2 separate regions of the Homo sapiens genome follow, and region 2 is linked to region 1. Evidence: promoter capture Hi-C in 16 types of primary human blood cells and fetal thymus (Javierre and others, 2016). All regions are on one chromosome and are shown on one strand. The core of a region is centred on a gene start or on the middle of the fragment in contact, and the rest is flanking DNA. Distances in the headings are between cores, read along the strand shown.

What was found. The method cuts DNA at HindIII sites, captures the fragments that hold promoters and counts their contacts. A CHiCAGO score of 5 or more calls a contact.
Region 2: the fragment with the promoter of FAM167A-AS1 here is called in contact with a fragment that was not itself captured in region 1 in 5 of 17 cell types (naive B cells, total B cells, M0 macrophages and 2 more); the score reaches 8.4 in naive B cells.

The regions. Positions count from the first base shown.
Region 1 is chr8:11,733,214-11,736,908 of GRCh38, forward strand. All of the region lies in intron 2 of GATA4 (GATA binding protein 4), which reads left to right. Among named protein-coding and RNA genes, the nearest start is that of LINC02905, 26 kb to the right of the region's middle. RefSeq lists enhancers at 2,542-3,042, 3,187-3,236. The HindIII fragment of the contact is 3,923 bases long and covers 1-3,695 here.
Region 2 is chr8:11,367,115-11,370,702 of GRCh38, forward strand. FAM167A-AS1 (FAM167A antisense RNA 1) reads left to right here and starts at 1,288. Exons shown (of 7, transcript NR_026814.1): 1 at 1,288-1,338. It also overlaps the pseudogene TDH. The HindIII fragment of the contact is 6,691 bases long and covers 1-3,413 here.

The sequences.
Region 1 (3,695 bases), core at 620-3,119:
AACTCCCTCAAACAAATCTATAAATTTAACACAGTCTCAGGAAACATCCCAGCAAGATTTCTTAAATACAACGTGTCCAGCTGATTATAAAATTTATATGAAAGAGTTATTGTACAAGAATAGCCAAGATAATTTTTTAAAAGGAGACTTAAGAAAGGGGAACTTGCCTTATCAGAAATCAAAACAAACTAGAGACACACTGGCACGGAAGCTAAAGCAGTGATGTTCATTGCAGCCCTGTTGTGTGTAGCAGTGAAAAATTACTTGCTGAAATGCAGCCAAGGTATTAGGAATGGGGAGGCTGTGGCATAAAAAGATTGGCATTAGCATTGAATCCTTTCAAATATCATGTACAGCTAAACAGCTGTGAGAATTATGGAGTAGAATGTAAGTGTTATGTGCCTTAACAATGCCAAACTAATAAATCCTCTTCGAAGAGAGAAGTAGATCTGTGCTGATATGGAAAAATGTCTAAACAGATATGCGTCCCTGCAGAAACAGCTGCAGAGGAGTATCCATGGTATGATCCCACGTGTGTTCAGCACACTGCTCTGTTCTTTCCTGTACTGAGGGAGCCCATTTCTGGTGAGGATTATTTCCACCACCCCGATGACACAGGCTTGGCTATGAGACTTGCTTTGATCAAGAATATGTGACTCGAAGTCACTATGCAACTTCCACACAGAGGCATTAAGAGCCATTACGTGGTTCTGTCATTACTTTTTGCCCCCTGCCACGAGGCTGGCATGAACCACATAGAGGTTTTGCCTTCGGCCTGCATGTCCAATTGAAGCATACATATAGAATTTCGGCCAACTTGCAGCTGACATGTAATGTGAACAGCAAACAAATAACTATTTGTTTGTTACAGCATAACAGCTTAAACAGCACCAAACCAAGCATAAGTGTTTTATACATATACATTTGAACATGGCTAAAATATATCTCCTATATCCTAGATACACTTTTCTCATGTGTATAAACAGACATGTACAAGGATGCCTGATGAAGCATTGCTATTACAGCAAAAAACTGAAAACAATCTGAATATATATCAGTAAGTGTCTTAGCCAGTTTAGGTTGCTGTAACAGAATACCATAGAATGTGTGGCTTTAACAACGCTTATTTCTCAAAGTTCTGGAAGCCAGGAAGCCCAAGATCACGGCACTGGCAGATTGGTGTCTGGTGAGAGACCCAAGCCTGCTTTGCAGAAGACCATCATCTCACTGCATCCACTCATGGGGTGGGTGTAGGGAGATATCTATTCTGTCTTTTCTTTTCTTTTTTTTGAGGCAGAGTTTTGCTCTTGTTGCCCAGGCTGGAATGCAATGGCGCAACCTCGGCTCACTGCAACCTCCGCCTCCTGGGTTCAGGCAATTCTCCTGCCTCAGCCTCCTGAGTTGCTGGGATTACAGGCATGCACCACCATGCTCGGCTAATTTTTGTATCTTTAGTAGAGATGGGGGGGTTTCACCATGTTGGTCAGTCTGGTCTCGAACTCTTGACCTCAGGTGATCCCCCTGCCTCGGCCTCCGAAAGGGCTGGGATTACAAGAGTGAGCCACCGTGCCCAGCCTCTGTCTCTTCTTATAAGGGTACTAATCCCATTCATGAGGGCTCCGTCCGATGGCCTGTTCACCTCCCAAATGCCCAACCTCCAAATACCATCACATGTGGGTTAGGATTGCAAGATCTAAATTTGGGTTATTCACAGACGTTTAGTCCATAACCATAAAGAAATGAACAAGTAAAATGTGATTTATTAATATAATGGAAAACTGTAAATCAACTCAAATAAAGCAGATCCACATGTATAATTAAAACTGGGAAACATAATAGGCAAAAAAGAGACTGGAATTGTGGGTTACACAGAGGCATCTACTGTATCTGCAATGTTGTATTTCTTTAAAAACATCTGAAGGAAATATGGTAAAACAAAGATTTGAAAAAGCTGGTGGTGGGTTTAAGAGTGTTTGCTATATATTTTTTTCTCAGTGACTGAAATATTTCATATTTTTTAAAGAAAGCATTCATGTAAATCTTTAAAATTGCAAAGCAATGCTTATGTTCTTCAGAGGAACATTTATCCCTGTGTGTAGAAGTATATAGATTAATTGGAAGGATATACACTAAATTCAATATAGTGATTGGATAGCAGATGGTGGGGGAATAAACAGAATTGTTACAGTGTCCTTTGTGTTTTTATGTAATTTTAAAATTTCTAAAAATAAAAATGTTAATTAATGCAGTGGAAGATATCTGGAAAAACAGGAAAATTGTTAGCCACCTCTGCCCCTGGAGATGGGATCATGGTGATGGTGGAGACTTTTTGTTTGTTTGTTTGTTTCTTTCTTTCTTTCTTTTTTGAGACGGAGTTTTGCTCTTATTGCCCAGGCTGGAGTGCAATGGTGCAATCTCGGCTCACTGCAACCTCCTCCTTCCGGGTTCAAGCGATTCTTCTGCTTCAGCCTCCCCAGTAGCTGGGATTACAGGCATGTGCCACCACGCTGGCTAATTTTGTATTTTTAGTAGAGATGGGGTTTCTCCATGTTGGTCAGGCTGGTCTCGAACTCCCGACCTAAGGTCATCCGCCCGCCTCGGCCTCCCAAAATGCTGGGATTACAGGCGTGAGCCACCGCGCCTAGCTGAGACCTTTTGTTTCTACGTGACATTCTTCTGTACCGTTTGCCTGTTTGAAAAAAAAAATTTTTTTTTGAGATAGGGTTTTGCTTTGTCACCCAGGTTGGAGTGTGGTGGTGCGATCATAACTCGCTTGCAGGCCTGAAGTCCCAGGCTCAAGTGATCCTCCTACCTCAGCCTCTGGAGTAGCTGAGACTACAGGCGAGGGCCACCAAGCCCAGCTAATTATTATTTTATTTAAGAGATGTGGTGTTACTATGTTGCCCAGGCTGGTATTGAACTCCTGAGCTCAAGCCATACTCCGACCTCACAAAGGGCTGGGATTACAGGCCAGAGCCACCATGCCTGGCCTGTTTGAATTTTTGTAGCAATTAAAAATTGCGTAATTTAAACACAAATTGAAGGGGACAGGGACTAAAAACATAAATGAGAGTTAGAATGCAGTGCCACGTTGAATGCTTTCACAGGTAGGAGCCTAGAAATCATCTGTTCCAACTACTGCACTTTTGAGTTGTGGAGACCAGACCAAGAGAGGTGAAATGACTGTTGGCTAAGGCGTCCACCTCTACTTGCGTCTGGAATTGCCCCTGCCTCTGCCTTTAAGTCTGGTCTGCGTGGCTTCTGATAGCGAAGCCAGGGGCGGACCCCGTTCACTGCATCAGGAGAGCCCTGAGCAGCGCTTGGCAGGAACTCTGCAGCCCAGGGCGCCCTCTAGAGGCTGGAGGACCTTCGTCAAGACCCCGGGGGGTGTGGATGTGGACCTGGAGGAGTGGTGGGCAGAAGGCGGAGCCACCCTTTCACCCAGTCAATTGCATTCCTCTGTCTTTAATGTTGGGCTTCCTCAGATTAGATTTTCTTTGAAGAAAGAGTTCTGCAGCTTAAAAAAAAAGTGACAGAAGAATCACTGGTGCAGAGTAAGGTATAGCGTTAGCATTTGATCTGATATTATCTAGATTCTTTTCACACTAGGAAGCACCTAAGTCATCTGGTCTAACACCTTCCTTTTACAAAGAAGATCTGAGGCCTATATAGGCAAAATGTGTGCTGCCCAGGTC
Region 2 (3,588 bases), core at 38-2,537, 370 kb before region 1:
TAATAAGGTTTATGTTTGTAGATTTTATTTTTTTGTTATTTTTCTTTTGGGCTGCTCTTGAGAGGCAGGAAGATTTTATTTTTTAAAATCAGAAAGTTAGTAATGAATTCTTTTTTTGAAAGTTTGAGATATAGTTTACATACCATAAAATTCACTCATTTATAGTTCTGTGGTTTTCAATGTATTAAAAAGTTTTGCAACCATCACTATAATCTAATTTTAGGCCATTTCATCACCCCACAAAGAAATCATATTATATAAGCCCTTCCCACCCTCGGCAACCACTAATGTACTTCTTCTGTCCCTGGGTTTGTCTGTTCTGAGCATTTTATGTAAGTGGAATGTGGTTGTCTTTTAGTGGCTTCTTTAATTAAGCAGTCCATTTTCAAGGTTCATCCATGTTTTAGCATGTATCACTACTTCATTTTTTATTGCTAAGTAATATTCCATTGTATGAGTAATCCTCTTATTTTCTCTATCCATTCATCCATTGAGGGACATTTAGGTTTTTTGCACTTTTTAAGCTATTATGAATAATGCTGCTGTGAACATTTGGGTAGATAATTGAGTTTTAAAATGATTGCTTACTGTTTATAGTTTAAAAAACAGTTCTTAAGTTTGATTAATTTATTCTCAGTTATCTTAAAGGAACAAGCAATTCTTCCCTTTCATAAGATAAGAAGCAGCAACTCGAGTGACCTTTGTCTCCTAGACCCTAACCTTCCAGCATTTCTACCAGGCTCCTAGAATGACCTTTAATTCGGATCATTTGGAGGGGTTTGTTCCAAACAGGTTCCTTGAATCTTTCCCAATCTGTAAACACACCTCCAGGAGATCTCAAATAAGAGTGAAAAAATAATGAATGCTTCAGCTTCTTTGGATGATTCTTATTCACTGACATCTTTGTACTCCAAGACTAGAATTAGAGTTGTCCCTTCTGTCTGAACACTCAGTATCTGGTGCACATCTTGGGATCCCGGAGCCCATCAATGTTTTCCTGTAAAATGCTTTCCGTTCTGTTGGGAGAAAGGGTTTTTTATGATTAATTTGGAAATAACCCAAAAAGCTATTTGAAGGAAAAGTGGGTTTAACCACAAAAATAGTTTATTTATAAATAAAAAAGAAAGAATACAAAGATTGGCTTTGTTCTGATGTTTTACACAGGCTACCGGTGGTTATTAGTTTTCTGCTCACATGTTTGTGTGTGGCGTTGCTGGGATGTGCCTTGTGTTGCTACACAAACAGCGATCCCGAAGTCTGCCAGCAAGATAGATGGCCTGGAGTCCAGAACAGACTGGATTAGTGAAAGCTACTGCAGTGCTTTGGACACTTACTATGGTAGGTGGGAGATATTTAGTATTTTTTAATTCACATAGGCCAAATCACCAATTTGTGATTGTATTTTATGGTAAGGGTGTTCAGAAAATGCTTTAAATTCTGTCATTTTAAAAAAATGTTTATTAAGAGTTCAGACAATTTAAAAGATATATAATAAAGTTGTCTTCCCCTCCAAACCCAATCAATAACATGTTAGCAGTGTAGTGTGGGACCCAGTGCAGTGGCTCACACCTGTAATCAGTACTTTAGGAGGCTGAGGCAGGAGGATTGCTTAAAGCCAGGAGTTCAAGACCAGCCTGGACAACATAGCAAGACTCTCATCTCTACAAAAATAATTTAAGCCAGATGTGGTGATGCACACCTGTAGCTGCTACTCACGTGGCTGAAGCTGAGGGATCACTTGTAGCCAGGAGTTTGAGGCTGCAATGAGCTATGCTTGCGCCACCATACTCCAGCCTGAGCCACAGAGCGAGACCATCTCAAACAACAACACACAAAAAAACTAGTGTATACCTTTTATTTTCTCCTGTGCTTATACAATCTAGGAGTGGAAGGTGAAACCTTTTTCTTTTCTTTTACTATAAAAGTAGTGCTAAGACAATATTGTCAAAAGTTTTGGAAAAGACTCACTTTCAATTTTTGCCATGTCACATGGTAGCTGTTTTAAAATATTCTCCAGTCCTCTATGCGTTACAAAGAACTTACATGTAGTTTTAACATTTGCCATTTAAAGATAGCTGCATAACTCGTTGAATGGAGTATCATAATGATGTCATTCTATTTAATTGCTGAAACCTAGAAGTACAATTACTGGGTCACAGGGCGTAAACACCTACTTGCCTCTTCATTTTATGTGGTCAAATTTATCTTCGGAACGAGTTGGATTAATTTGTGATGAAATTCTCGACCATCAACACCTTCCTCTTGGCACATATTCATGGACCTCAGTATGGTTTACATTTGTTGAAAAGTTTTATTTTTGTGGCTGGGTGCAATGACTCATACTTGTAATCCCAGCACTTTTGGGAGGCTGAGGCAACAGGATCAGTTGAAAGTTTTATTTTTCTAAAAGGTTTGAAGAATATAAACTTCATTTTTTGCTGGAGAATCTTAACATTCTAATACAAGAGCCGTGAGTGAATAAATCCTAGATCTCACATAACCGGATGATAACTGCCTCTAAATCAGTGAATTGCTTCCAAAAATCACCGGTGAGAAAGGAATCTTGTTTTTTAATGATTTTTTTTTAGGGTAGTCACTTTAAAAAAAATTATTTCATGGCACTGTTTTTATAGCTTTAGTATGTTTGTCTATAAGGTAGCTAAACAGGCCACCCCTTACCTTCCAATGTGAAGATCCCAGAAAACTTTTTTTTAGCCAACTTACATATATAAAGTTTAGGATTGTAGATGAGAGGATAAAATAGACACCTGTACTATTAGTTGCAGGTGTTTCAGATTTGTTAATCTATTAACCAGCATGTGGGCTTTCCCTCTTCACATTCGCATTTCAGGCATGTCACTCCGACTTCGTATTTGATCTTGGTGCCCCCTTTGGCATCCCCTAATAGGTTAAGAGCAGATGATCTTTTTTCTTTCTAAGTTGTTTGGGATGCAGCAGTTTCGGGGTCTATGTATGATGCTGTTGGTGGACATTTATCCCAAGCCACAAGTATGCCTGTGTGTAGGTAGCACTAGGGCAGCTGCTTTTCAGAATCCACAGAGCATTGCTTTCGATTTTTAACAGGCTTCTTTCCAGTGACACCAAATACTTGTAACTGTAGCTTTATAATCCTAGAGACCGTGACTGTTAATGTGCCTCCTTTACAACTTATCCTACCAGCCACAATATTAGCATTGCTTAAGGTTGTTTGAGGCTAATAATGTTTCCACAGAACAATAACTTGTATTCTTTTCAGGTTACCGACAGCATTTAGTATATCCTGAAAGAGTGTAATGTTTCAAATATAAGGTGAGCATCCCTAAGGGGATAGTTTCGGGAGATAACTCTGCCTTATTTTGGGAGTATATGTGATACCTTGTCTGTTGATCCATTTGTCTGAAGTCCTTAAGAAAAGCTTTTCTCTTTTGTTAAAAGGTCAAAAATTTAAAAATTATTTTGCCCAGTTCTTTCTTTACGCTGTAAGTACAATTCTTCTGTACCTACATTGCTGTAAGAAGTTTAAATATAATTTGTAATTTAAGTTGTAGTATGAAAGAATGAACCAGAACAAGTAGCTGCCTCCAAGGT